4 separate regions of the Homo sapiens genome follow, and all the other regions are linked to region 3. Evidence: promoter capture Hi-C in 16 types of primary human blood cells and fetal thymus (Javierre and others, 2016). All regions are on one chromosome and are shown on one strand. The core of a region is centred on a gene start or on the middle of the fragment in contact, and the rest is flanking DNA. Distances in the headings are between cores, read along the strand shown. Region 1 overlaps OTOA (otoancorin). Region 2 overlaps EEF2K (eukaryotic elongation factor 2 kinase). Region 3 holds the start of UQCRC2 (ubiquinol-cytochrome c reductase core protein 2). Region 4 has its middle 34 kb from the start of METTL9.

What was found. Contacts are between HindIII fragments. The CHiCAGO score rates a contact against its expected background, and 5 or more counts as called.
Region 1: a contact is called between a fragment that was not itself captured here and the fragment with the promoter of UQCRC2 in region 3, in 1 of 17 cell types (M1 macrophages). The highest score is 5.0, in M1 macrophages.
Region 2: a fragment that was not itself captured here is called in contact with the fragment with the promoter of UQCRC2 in region 3 in 1 of 17 cell types (naive CD8 T cells); the score reaches 5.7 in naive CD8 T cells.
Region 4: a contact is called between a fragment that was not itself captured here and the fragment with the promoter of UQCRC2 in region 3, in 3 of 17 cell types (M2 macrophages, neutrophils and total CD4 T cells). The highest score is 7.3, in M2 macrophages.

The regions. Positions count from the first base shown.
Region 1 is chr16:21,668,971-21,672,339 of GRCh38, forward strand. The region is part of intron 1 of OTOA (otoancorin); the gene reads left to right. Among named protein-coding and RNA genes, the nearest start is that of OTOA, 6.7 kb to the left of the region's middle. The HindIII fragment of the contact is 1,506 bases long and covers 544-2,049 here.
Region 2 is chr16:22,253,154-22,256,553 of GRCh38, forward strand. The region is part of intron 6 of EEF2K (eukaryotic elongation factor 2 kinase); the gene reads left to right. Among named protein-coding and RNA genes, the nearest start is that of TRL-AAG2-4, 42 kb to the right of the region's middle. The HindIII fragment of the contact is 2,081 bases long and covers 316-2,396 here.
Region 3 is chr16:21,951,792-21,955,087 of GRCh38, forward strand. UQCRC2 (ubiquinol-cytochrome c reductase core protein 2) reads left to right here and starts at 1,570. Exons shown (of 14, transcript NM_003366.4): 1 at 1,570-1,665. The coding sequence starts at 1,633. RefSeq lists enhancers at 903-1,362, 1,451-2,168, 1,683-1,852, 1,863-1,912. The HindIII fragment of the contact is 11,485 bases long and covers 1-3,296 here.
Region 4 is chr16:21,564,187-21,567,749 of GRCh38, forward strand. No RefSeq gene overlaps it. Among named protein-coding and RNA genes, the nearest start is that of METTL9, 34 kb to the right of the region's middle. The HindIII fragment of the contact is 1,772 bases long and covers 895-2,666 here.

The sequences.
Region 1 (3,369 bases), core at 47-2,546, 280 kb before region 3:
TCTCAGTCCTTAAAACTCACCTAATTTCTCCGTAAATTTACTTTCTTGGTGATATCATTCAGGGTTTAAATACATGCTGACTATCTGGGGCCGGGTGCAGTGGGATTACATGCCTGTAATCCCAGCACTTTGGGAGCCTGTGTCAGGTGGATCCCTTGAGGTCATGAGTTTGAGACCAGCCTGGCCAACATGGTGAAACCCCGTCTCTACTAAAAATACAAAAATTAGCCGGTGCGGTGGCACAAGCCTGTAATCCCAGCTACTCGGGAGGTTGAGACACAAGAATCACTTGAACCTGGGAGGCAGAGGTTGCAGTGAGCTGAGATCGTGCCACTGCACTCCAGCGTGCGTGACAGAGTGAGACTCTGTCCCCCACCCCAAAAAAACCCCCAAAACAGAAGAACAAACAAAAAAGCAAACACAAAAAACCACTGACTATCTCTGTTTAGATAGCTGCTTCTGACAGCACCTCTCCCCTAACCTGCAGGCTCAAACATCAAACTGCCTACTTGCTATGCTATCTGCACTCTAAAAGGCTTCTCAAGCTTAGTATGTCCAAAACTGAGCTCCAGGGATCCTTCCCTAAACTTGGAACTCCTATGGTTTTCCCATCTCCCTCTCTACATGCTCAGGCCAAATCCTTGGCGTTGTCTTTGACCTGTCTATTTCTTTTATTCCCTACATTCGATCTTTTGGTTCCGCCTTCCAAATACCTCCAAAATCCAACCACTTCTCACCACCTTCACTGCTATCAATGACCAAGTTATTGTCATCTCTTTCCTAGATTGGTCTGCCTGCTACAGCCATTGTTCCACTCCAGGGTATTCTCAACACAGCAATCAATGTGCTTGATCCAGTTAAAATAAAAGTCAGGGCCAGGCACAGTGGCTCACACCTGTCATCCCAGAGCTTTGGGAGGCTGAGGTGGGTGGATCACTTGAGCTTAGGAGTTCGAGACCAGCCTGGCCAACAGGGTGAAATCTCGTCTCTACCAAAAATATAAAAATTAGCTGGGTGTGGTGGTGGGCACCTATAATCCCAGCTACTTGAGAGGCTGAGGCAGGAGAATCACTTGAGCCGGGGAGGCAGAGGTTGCAGTGAGCTGAGATTGTGCCACTGCACTCTAGCCTGGGCGACAGAGTGAGACACCATCTCAAACAAAACAAAACAAAAACAAAAACAAGTCAGAGCATCCATCCTGGCTAATATCCCTTCAGTGGCTCCCACCTCCCTCCAAGTAAAAGTCAGAGCGCTCACAATGGCCTGAAAGACCCTACTCACTCTGGCCCTGATACCTCTCCAACCCCATGTCCTACTGTTATATCCTCTTCGTGCAATTTACTGAAGAACATGCAAATTATGCTCCTAATATCAAAGCCTTTGCACTGTCATTTTCTTTTCTTTCTGGAACTTTCTTTCTCCAGATATTCCCGTGGTTCATTCCTTCACTTCCTGAGGTCTCTGCTTAAATGTCACCTCCTCAGGTCTTCCCTGACCAAACTGTCTATAATAGTACCTGCTCCTTCTTTGGCTCCTTTTTCCTACCCTGTTGTATTTTTCTCCATGGCACTCATCACTCCCTGACATAATATAGTTATTTGATTATCTATTTTCTGCCTGGTTCATTCCAACACACCAGCAGGGAGTTAGTTTTGTAAACTGCTGTATTCTCAGAGCATAGAATAATGCCTGGCTCACAGCACTACTCAACAAATATTTGAAGAATGAAAGCATGAAATAATTACACAAACATAAATATGTATTATAGCTGTGCTTGGTGCTATAAAAGAGAAGTATTGGCCTTTTCTTCTGGCTAATTGCTTTGGCCTGGTCAGAGAATTCAGGGAAGGCTTCATTGAAGACTTGAAATTTACAATGAATTGATCTTAGCCGGGCAAAGAGGAAGGGGAAGAATCCTCTGGGCCGAGGAACAGCCTGTGAGAGGGTCTTAATCTGGGGAGGATAGCACCTTGGAGGGACAGACAGATGGCCCGGGCAGGAACCTTGGGGAATGAGGGGCAAAGAGGAGGGTGATACAGCCACTGGAAAAGCTTTGGGCTTTATCTTGAGGGTAATGGGGAGAGGCGGAGGGTGACATGAGTTTATTGAGATGGTGTTTTTCAAAACAGCATCTGTTTGAAAACAGCAATCTGGTTTCTTTGCTTATTTAATAAACTTGTATACAGAGCTGACTTTGTGTCAAGCCCTGTTTGAAGTGATTCACTATTAACAACTCATTTTACCCTCATACGACACAGTGATGCTGGTACCATCATTAATCTCATTTTACAGACGAGAAAATTGGAGTGCAGAGAGATTAAGAAACTCGTCCAAGGCCGGGCTCAGTGGCTCACACCTGTAATCTCAGCACTTTGGGAGGCCAAAGTGGGTGGATCACTTGAGGTCAGGAGTTCGAGATCAGCCTGGCCAACATGGTGGGAGCCTGTCTCTACTAAAAATACAAAACTTAGCCTGGTGTGGTGGTGGGTACCTGTAATCCTAGCTACTCAGGAGGCTGAGGCAGAAGAATCGCTTGAACCTGGGAAGCAGAGGTTGCAGTGAGCCTACATTGCACCACTGCACTCCAGCCTGGGCAAGAGAGTAAGACTCCATATCAAAAAAAAAAAAAAGAAAAAAGAAAAAAGAAAAAAAAAAAGAAAGAAATATGTCCAACATTGCACAGCTAGTAAGTGGCGGAGACGTGATTCAGAACAGGTGACTGGCTCCACAGTCCATGCTTTTCCATTTCTGTTTGATACTGACTTTTGTGAGGTATAAATTTACAGGCAATACAATGCACACTAAGTGTACAGTTCAGTGAGATCTGATAAATGTATGTATCTGTGTGACAACCACCACAATCAAGATACAAAAAATGGGGGCTGGGTGCAATGGCATCCACCTGTAATCCCAGTACTTTGGGAAGCTCGAAGGGAGGATTGCTTGAAACCAGGAGTTTGAGACCAGCTTGGGCACTATAGTGAGACCCTATATCTACAAAAAAAATTTTTCCATCACTCCAAGAAGTTCCCTTGTGCCCTGTTGCAATAAACTTTTCCCATTGTACCCTAATAATGCCCCAGACCAATCCTAATTTGTTTCCTGTCACTGAAGATTATTCTAGGTAACCTAGATAACCTAGAATCTAGATATTCTAGATAACTTAGAGTTTCACAGAAATGGAATCATATGTTATGTGGTCTTTTTTGACTGGCTTCTTTTGCTCAGCATAAGCATAATGTTTCTGAGGTTCATCTGTGTTGTTGCCTATATCAGTAGTGTATTCCTTTTCCTATGCATATAATATGGGTTTTTTCCCTTTGGGTGCTTAAAAATTTATTATTTTATTTATTTAAAAAATTGACATAT
Region 2 (3,400 bases), core at 106-2,605, 300 kb after region 3:
CTTCATTTGAGCCCCTAGGGTGATGAGTGACTGAGGCCAAGCAGAATTCCCTGTTGCCTTTCGGCATTTGAGGAAGGATCCATGCCTCTGCCCTGCATGAGCCCACAGCTGAGATCTTCCACAGCTTGAGCATCTACTACATACAACGCACAGTCTCCTGGGTGTGCAGAATTTATTGAGCACCTGCTGTTTGCAGAGCCCTTGATGAAGCATACTTGAGGCAGGCGCAAGAAGCCACAGTCCCCACCCTGGGGGGCTGTGGCTTCCTCTGCAATTTGCGGCCTTCCAGCCTGGCCTCCTTTCTCTTCCTCCACAAGCTTGTTCCTGCCCCAAAACCTTGGCCCTGGCTGTGGGCTTGGCGGGCATCTTGTGTCACCGTAATTCTTGCATGGCTAGCTACTTCTTATAGTTCAGGTCTCAGATCCTGTGTCACCTCCTCAGCCAGCCCATCTCAGACAACCCTAAGAAGTGGTCCCTCTGCCCCAGTCACCTCTGTCACATCATTCTAACTTTTTTTTTTTTTCCTGTTCTTTGGAGCAGTTAGTATGTCATTCATTTAGTTAATATTTTAGGTGCTTCTCTCCCCTAAAGGCAGAGATTTTATTTTATCATGTTCACTGCTGTCTCCTAGTGCCTAGGTGTCCAGTAAATAATACTGTGGTAGGCCTGGCACAGTGGCTCATGCCTGTAATCCCAGCACTTTGGGAGGCTGAAGTGGGCGGATCACCTGAGGTCAGGAGTTCGAGACCAGCCTGGCCAACATGGTGAAACCCCCGCCTCTACTAAAAATACAAAATTAGCTGGGCATGGTGGTGCACGCCTGTAATCCCAGCTACTTGGGAGGCTGAGGCAGGAGAATCACTTGAACACGAGAGGCGGAGGCTGCAGTGAGCCGAGATTGGGCTACTGCACTCCGGCCTGGGTGACAGAGCAAGACTCCATCCCCAAATAGTAGTAGTAGTAGTAGTAGTAACAATAATAATAATAATAATAATAATGTGGTTGACTTAAGGGAGGGAGAGAGACGTGGTTGTTTGAGAAGGTGCTGGTTGTCCACTGTGGCTGTACCACTGCCCCTCGCCCAGGGAGCCCTCTGGCCCAGCAGGTGGCCCTGCTGTAAGTTTCCTTGTAGGGATGGGACCAGCCTTTGGGCAGAACCCTCTGAGAACCGCCGCTCCCTGCCTTCCCCTCAGGCCGGTTCTCAGAACCCATTGAAGCCTTGTTTGGGGCAAGTTCTCACCTCTCAGATCAGGACCCCTTCGGCCTCTGCATCTGTTGTCTGCATGTCTGGTGACCCACTCTCCATGGATGGTCGTTTCCTTGGGAAACCTGGACCTAATCCTCCCAGGAGGTGGCATTGAGGAGGACATGGGAACCAAGGATGAGTCCTTGTGTAACAGGGCAAGAGGTGCAAGCTAGAGTCCCTAATCTCCCCTACTCCACTTTACAAACCATATGCACTATTTATACATTTTCTTCTGTGTACAAAATTAAACATAGACTTTATAAAAACAAAAAAAATTCGGCAAGGAATGTCAAAGTTCCCTATAATTTCCCATTGCAGGGAGAAAACTGCTGTTTAGAGGTTGGTTTATATTTCTCTAGAATTGTAGCTCCTGATAAAAATGAGTTGCCAGGCACAGTGGCTCATGCTTGTAATCTCAGCACTTTGGAAAGCCCGGGGTGGGGGGGCGGATCACTTGAGGTCAGGAGTTCAAGACCAGCCTGGCCAACATGGTAAAACCCATCTCTACTAAAAATACAAAAATTAGGCAGGCATGGAGGCGGGTGCCTGTAGTCCCAGCTACTCAAGAGGCTGAGGCAGAGGAATTGCTTGAACCTGGGAGGCAGAGGTTGCAGTGAGCCAAGATCGTGCCACTGCAGTCCAGCCTGGGCAACAGCCTGGGCAATAAAATATAAAATAAAATGAAAGCAAACATTGCCTGGCTCCTTTTTGCATCAATAAGTTTAATTCACAGACTGAGCCTGAGACCCTCTTTATGCAGGTAAAGAAACTGAGGCACAGAGAGGTGAAATTCAGAAATGTTCCCAAATTCACAGTTTTACTGTAAGGCATAGTCTAAGTTGCTTAGCAAACAGACCCACAAAATATGTGTGGACACGAAATGGTTTCTTTTTCACTTGTGTGGAGGTCTTGCATTGGTGGGTGGCTTGGGGTAGGCTTGTTTGTGCCTCATCTCCTTGAAGCCATCTAGAGAACTCGTTCCTTTGGTCTTTTTTCTCTGCCATCCCCTCAGGGGTTTGCCATGGACCACATAATCAATTCTGGCTCCCAAGCAGAGTCCACCTTACAGGGCAGGCTGGAGTTACATCATTGCAATGCTCACTTCCCATTGGCTGGGCACAGTCATGTGGCCACACTTAGCTGCAAGGGAAGCTTAGCAATGTCATCCCTAGTGGGTGGCTGTGTACCCTTTTAAAACTCAAAGGAAAACAGAGCTGAGCACAGTGGCTGCAGCTTGTCATCCTAATGCTCTGGGAGGATGCTGGAAGACAAGAGGATTGCTTGAGGCCAGTTCTTGAGGCCAGTTCAAGACCAGCCTAGGCAACATAGTGAGACCTCGTCTCTATAAAAAAATTTAGATATGAGCCATGTGTAGTGACACACGCCTGTAGTCCTAGCTTCTCGGGAGGCTGAGGTGGGAGGATCACTTGAGCCCAGAAGTATGAGGCTGTAATGAGCCATGATTATGACACTGCACTCCAGCCTGGGCGACAGAGTGAGACCCTGTCTCTAAAATAAATTTTTTTTTTTTTAAGACGGAGTCTCACTCTGTCATCCAGGCTGGAGTGCAGTGACATGATCTTGGCTCACTGCAACCTCTGCCTCCTGGGTTAAAGTGATACTCCTGCCTCGACACCCTGAGTAGCTGGGATTTTTGGTACGCACAAGCACGCCCAGCTAATTTTTGTATTTTTATTTTATTAATTTTTTTTTTGAGACGGAGTTTTGCTCTTGTTGCTCAGGGCTGGAGTGCAGTGGTGCAATCTTGGCTCACTGCAACCTCTGCCTCCCAGGTTCAAGTGATTCTCCTGCCTCAGCCTCCAGAGTAGCTGGGATTACAGGCATGTGCCACCATGCCTGGCTAATTTTGTATTTTTGGTAGAGACAGGGTTTCACCATGTTGGCCACGGTTGGTCTCCAACTCCTGGCCTCAGGTGATCCACACACCTTGGCCTCCCAAAGGGCTGGGATTACAGGTGTGAGCCACCATGCCCAGCCTTAATTTTTGTATTTTTAGTAGAGGCAGGATTTCACCATGTTGGCCAGGCTGGTCTCGAACTCCTAACCTCAACTGATTCACCTGCCTCAGCCTCCCAAAGTGCTGGGATTACAGATGTAAGCCACCGTGCCCAGCCTAAAAATATATTTTTTTTA
Region 3 (3,296 bases), core at 320-2,819:
TGCTTGCCATAATCAAAATAAATATATTATTAAAATGGAACAGTGCTAAATAAGGTGTACACATGGACATAGAGTGTGGAATGACAGACAATGGAGACTCCGAAAGGTGGAGGGGTGGGAGAGAGGTGAACGATGAGAAAGTACTTAATGGGTACCATGTACATTATTCGGGTGATGGGTACACTAAAAGCCCAGACTTCACCATTACTGCAATATATCCATATAACATAACTGTACTTGCGCCCCTTAAATTTATACAAATTTTTAAAAGGAAAAAATGGAAGTGTTCATCTATGTACCAACTTAAAATCATCTCACGCACCACTAGTGTTAAATCTACCACATGTGGGGAAACTGTGTGGTATGAATTGGGTTGAGGGCGTCCCCAGCAGGCACAGAAATTGGGTTGGTGCCAGGTTCTTAATGCCCAGATCTTAATTAGAGAGCCCAAGTCCGTTGTAGGCCTGGAGCAATTCAGACACAAGGCAAAAAGAAAGTACATTTGCCTATGCCTTGTAACGTCTACACCACCAGCCTTTCTGAAACTATTGTGCATACGAAGTCATCCCAGGATCTTGTAAAAACACCGATTCGGATCCAATATGGGACCTGGAGTTCATACATTTCTAATCAACTCCTAAATGATATTGATGCTGATACTGTCGGTTTCCCAACCAAGCAACGTAGCAAGGTACGAAACTCTAAAGTCCCTAAAGGGCAGGGACCACGCCTCTCGCGTTGGCATAGTGCCTAGCTCAAGGCACTTTCTGGGTTAACACTCGCTGAGGACCGGAGTGAACGCCCCCGCCCCAAGTCGTCACGTGACTGACTTTCTCCAACTGCCGGTTTCGGCTCACATAACACACCTACTATCCAAAACATTTCTATTTTCCTAACACAAAAACTATAGCTAAGTTTTTATATTCTATGTAGCCCCAGCCTAGGACGTAAATTCCACGAGACCAAAAGCCTTGTGATGATTCCCCGAGGTTGCTGACCCTCCCGGTGTGTCCCGGGCCTGCTCTGGGGGACACAGCGGCGAATACGTTGAACGAGGCCCCTGTTTCACGGAGCTAAAGATCCAGTAAGGACTTCACCCAGCGAGAGGCAACTACGCCGGGCTTCGATACCCAATACCTCTGCAGAAAGGTGGAGTGGCAGGAATCTCCTGAAGCCTCCAACGTCCAGGAACGCGGAAACCCAGGGCCTCCAGTGCAGGTGTCATCCCGGAGGGCGCATGCGGAGTCCCAAGAGAGGCGCGTCCCATTGGACAATGCTGAGCGGAAGAGCCCAAGATAGCGGGGGGAGTTGTGACAGGCTGCTGCAGACGTACTTAGAAAAGGGGTGCATACTGGATATTCAGGCTAGGAGAAGAACGCAAAAAGCAGTGACGTACATTATTCTCTGCATATATTTACTTGGGAAATTGTGCGTCTCCCTATTCTGAGTCTTGGAGGAATTGGACTGGTCCAACCTTATAAAGAGAGCAGTAGAGCGCGGCAGTATAGAGAGTACCTCACGAAGGGGACGTGGGAAAGTGTTAGCGGGGAACGCTGGGAAACTCCCGGCCTCCGCCACCATCTTGCTTTCCTTTAATCCGGCAGTGACCGTGTGTCAGAACAATCTTGAATCATGAAGCTACTAACCAGAGCCGGCTCTTTCTCGGTGAGCTCAGGTGGCGGGTTTGGGAAAGGGCTGGGGAGCAGTGTGTCGACAAGGTGATACGAGGCGGAGGTGTCTGGTCTGGGGTCTGGGCCTTGGGATTCGGTCTGCCCTTCAGCTGAACCCTGCGGGCCAAGTGGGCTGCAGACTGGGTCAGGCTTTGGAGGCCCAGCTCATGCTGTGAGCACAAGAGACCTAACACCGGGAAACCTGAAGAGAGGGGCAGGACGTGAGAGCGGAGTTGAAGCGAGTCCTTGGAGAGACTTCTGAAGGTCACTCCGGTACTCAAGTGCTGGAGAAAGAGACCGTGAAACCCAGGGGGAGCGGGAGGACGGCGCACTTAGCCCCCCACCTTCACTTTATCCGCTGCAGCCTCTGCTCCTTGGTTTATCACGGAGCGTCAGTTTCCCCAGCGAATAAAAGTATAAGAAAGGAGCTAATGCAGATAGAACACTTATTACAGTACCTGGAACTTCATTGTTAAATACTATGGTGTCTTAGTAGTCTAACGTTGCTTTTCTTGATCGTATGTTAGACGGTTCCTCCAAGACGTCTCTGTTTGTCCTCAAAAGCTCCTTAATTAAGTTTCCCCTTCAAGCCTAAATTAAACATAGCTGTCACTTGGGGAAAACTCACACATCAGGGTTATATCACTGTGGGACAGTGGTTATTAAGAGGGGTAAGGGGGAACACTTAAAAAATCATAGCGAGGGACAGAATGCCCCCAGGGAACCGGTGGCGATGTTTGGAGACATATTTAGTTGCAACAACTTGTAAGGAGGGTGCTATTGGCATGGAGAGGCCAGGGATGCTGCTAAACTTCGCCTTACAGCAAAGAATTATCTAGCCCCAAGTGCCAGTAGTAGTACCTGTGTTGAGAAACCCCCCTAGATGGAGATGCAGAAGACCAGACCTGGGCATGGAATGTTCTTATGCTTTATGTTTACATAAATGTGCTGTGGGCTATATCGATTTAGGCTGTAATTGCATTAACCTTCCAGGTATACCTAGACACACCAGTGATTACCCTTGGAGGGAAGCACGGTTAGATTGGCAAAAGACCCCAACATTTCCTTCTCCATTCTATTTTGCAACAGAAAAAGCTCAGAGAAAACAGTTGGAGAGGCCCAAAGTAAACAAATTGCAGTAAACTTGAAAGCAATTATTTATGTGTCTAATTTTAGCACTTTATATAGGAGAATAAACTTAGATATATCTTGTTATTAGAACAAAATAATTTAGAAGATTGCATGACAGTTACTAGGATAATTTGCTGATTTGAATGGGACGATTAAGAAGCACATTACCGGCGGAGCGCGATGGCTCACACCTGTAATCCTAGCACTTTGGGAGTCAGAGGCAGGCGGATCACTTGAGATGAGGAGTTCGAAACCAGTCTGGCCATCATGGTGAAACCCCGTCTCTACTAAAAATACAAAAAAAAAAAAAATAGCCGGGCGTGGTGGTGGTGGGCGCCTCTAATCCCAGCTACTCAGGAGGCTGAGGCAGGAGAATCTCTTGAACCCAGGAGGCGGAGGTTGCAGTGAGCCGAGATCGCACCGCTGCACTCCAGCCTAGACGACAGAGCGAGACTCCGTCTCAAAAAAAAAAAAAAAAAAAAATTACCAACAAAG
Region 4 (3,563 bases), core at 531-3,030, 390 kb before region 3:
GTTACCTGCGGGTGGATACTTTCTTCTTTTGAGAATAGAAGATTAGGCTGGGTGCAGTGGCTCATGCCTGTAATCCCAGCACCTTAGAAGGCTGAGGCAGGCAGATCACTTGAGTCTAGGAGTTTGAGACCAGCCTGGGCATCATAGCAAGACCCCGTCTCTACTAAAAATACAAAAAAAAAAAAGTAGCTGGCTGTGGTGGTGTGTGCCTGTAATACCAACTACTCAGGAGGCTGAGGTAAGAGAATCACTTGAACCCAGGAGGTGGAGGTTGCAGTGAGCCAAGATTGTGCCACTGCACTCCAGCCTGAGTGACAGAGCAAGACTCTGTCAGAAAAAAGAAAGAAAAGAGAGAGAGAGAAAGGAAGAGGGGAAGGGAAGGAAGGGAAGGAAGGAAGAGAGAGAGGAAGGAAGGAAGAGAGAGAGAGGAAGGAAGGAAGGAAAAGGAAGGAAGGAAGGGAACAGAAGATTAGTTGAGCATAGTGGCTCAGTGCCTGTAATCCCAGCACTTTGGGAGGCCGAGGTAGGCAGATCATTTGAGCCTAGGAGTTCAAGACCAGCCTGGGAAACATGGCAAAATCCCATCTCTACAAAAAATAGAAAAATTAGCTGGGCATTGTGGCATGCATCTGTAGTCCCAGCTACTTGTGGGGCTGATGCAGGAGGGTCACTTGAGCCCAGGAGGCAGAGGTTGCAGTGAAGTATGATTATGCCACTGCACTCCAGCCTAGGTGGCAGAGTGAGACTCTGTCTCAAAAAAAAAAAAAAAAAAAAGAAGATTGTGAGCAAAAATTGAATGCAATTTTTTTCATAAGCAGAGGTGTAATGGTTATTATTACAAAAGATGATATTAAATTTATTTATGTATTATCTCTTTGCCTCCACCAGAATGTAAGCTTTGTTGAAGGCAAGGATCATTGTTGATTTATTTACTCTGTATCCCAGGCATCTAAAACAGTAAGTGTGCAATAAATATTTGTTGAATGAATCAAAGCATAAGCAAGGCTTCAGATTCATTTTTCTATCAGAGATTCATTTAAAAATGTTAAGGAAATGAGAGGTGAAGACATCCTAAAGGCATAATACTCAAAGTAGTCAGTAGGTTCATTGATAACCCAGAGGAAAATATATAATATTATAGAGGAAAAGAAATTCTCTGAAATCATGGCATCTCTCCTAGCTTGGGATAACATTTTAGCAGAAAGACCGAAGAACTCTTCCAAGAAACATCAAGCAATTAAATGAAGTAGTAGAAAAATCACCAGTACTTTAAAGTAGATGAAGCCATTAAAATAGTTGCAGCTTCAGTAATCACCATGTAAGCCTGTAAGTGGTGGGTCTTAGACCACAACATGGTAGTTATCAAATTGCTTTATTCATCGAAATGTTCATTCTCCTGGCTGCCCTTGAACTTCCAGCCTAAGGCTTTCTCTCTGCAGGGTTGTCAGCATGCTCATGCAAGGCTTTGCCTCTGCAGATTATCAGAGGTGTACTCCATGCCCCTCTCACCATGAAAAAAGGGAGAAAAAGACAATTTCGTCTCAGAGATAGAAAATCTCCCAGAGAGAACCCCTGGCAGCTGGAATCCATTTTTTTCCCCCTGAAGCTGGAATCTGTTATAACTACAGAACACTGAAGGATAATGAGGTTCTGCTGCTAAGCAAATGCTGGGACAAAAAGCACAGAGGTGCTGCAGCCAGGCAGAGACTGGGCTTTTCATGAAACCCTGTGTCTCTGAGCACATATTGCAATAATTCTCTGACTAGCTGCTCAAGGCCTTGGCTTCGTGGCTTTTTACTCCGTTTAAAGGTCTTGATCAGGCCACTTCCGTTTTTAATGTTTGAGAAATGTCTGATTTATGCTGCTTCAAAGTGGAACTTGGGTTTCTATTACCTTTTTGGCACCTTGCACCCATTGTTGGCCTAATTCTGCTGTCTCGTCTATCTTGTGGTTCCTATCAGTAAACAAAGTCCAGGAGAGGCGTCATGCTTGTGAACACCTCCAACATCAAGTTCAAAAGTACAATCATGACCTTGTCCTGTCGTTCTCAGAATCTGGGCTCAGCTATTTCAAACCTCCCATGTCTTCACTGGTAGTGGTCAATTAGAAATCACTGAATCCTTTCCCTAGAGTGGTCAGAGACAGCCAGTTTATGGTAATTTGGGCACAAGTGCCAATTGGAAAGGTGCATTATTCAAACCACTTTGGCTACAAGTGACAGAAATTCAATGCAGGTTAGCTTAAATAAAAAAGGAATTCGGGCTGGGAACAGTGGCTCATGCCTATAATCCCAGCATTTTGGGAGGCCGAGGCGGGTGGATCACCTAAGGTCAGAAGTTCTAAACCAGCCCGGGCAACACGGTGAAACCCTGCCTGTACTATAAATACAAAAAATTAGCCAGGCATGGTAGTGCACGCCTGTAGTCCCAGCTACTCTGGAGGCTGAGGCAGAAGAATCACTTGAACCCGGGAGGTGGAAGTTGCAGTGAGCCAAGATCACGCCACTGTACTCCAGCCTGGGCGACAGTGAGACTCTGTCTCAAAAAAAAAGAAAAAAAGAAAAAAAAGGGAATTTATTGGCTTCTGTAGCTGAAAAGTCAGGCAGATTTGGATCTCAAATTATGTCATTAACTAGTTTCTCTGACTTACCCTCTGCGTTGTGTATAAGCTTTTCATCGCATGGCAGCAAGATACCTCCATGTTCACATAGGGCTAACAGCCCAAGATGGTGAGGAAACATGCACTTTTGTTCCAGTAGCACAGAAAAAGTCCCCAGGTGGACGCTAATGGGCACTGTATGAGTCAAGTGCTCATGGCTGAGGCAGTAGTTGTACCTTGACACATGAAGTCCTCTGACCAGATCTGGGCATGTACCTGACCTTGGGGATGGAAGTGAGGCAGTCCAGCTCCACCAACTCGTAAGGACTGAGACAGTTTACTAGGGAAGAGGGGAAAGCGTGTTTCTTACAGGAAGAAATGCGGGCAGACAAAACACCATATACCCCTTAAATTAGGTTTTCCACAGATAATTGAGGTGGAGCAGAAGGGTAACCACATTTTGACAGCATCATCAGTATGTGGTGAGTGGCCCAGCATTTGACCCTGGCCTCTGTGGTCATCTCAGAGCCCAGAAAGTAGCAGCAGAAGAGCAGAGCATGGGTAGGTAACCATCAGTTCTTGGATAACTGAAGGGTGATCTTGAGGAGCAGTGAGTCTGTGGGATGGCCATGCCTAACAAATGTCATCCAGTTCAGAGCACCAAGGACATTCCCAGCTATGGCTTTTATCTTTTATCTTCTTCTTCTTCTGGTTTTGCTCTGTCACCCAGGCTGGAGTGTAGTGGCATGATCTCGGCTCACTGCAACCTCTGCCTCCCAGGTTCAAGCAATCCTCCCACCTCAGCCCCCTGCGTAGCTGGGACTGCAGCTGAGCGCCACTACACCCAGCTAATTTTTGTATGTTTTGTAGAGATGGGGTTTCACCATGTTGATCATGCTGGTCTTGAAGTCCTAGGCTCAAGCAATCTGCCTGCCTTGGGCTCCCACAATGTTGGGATTACAGGC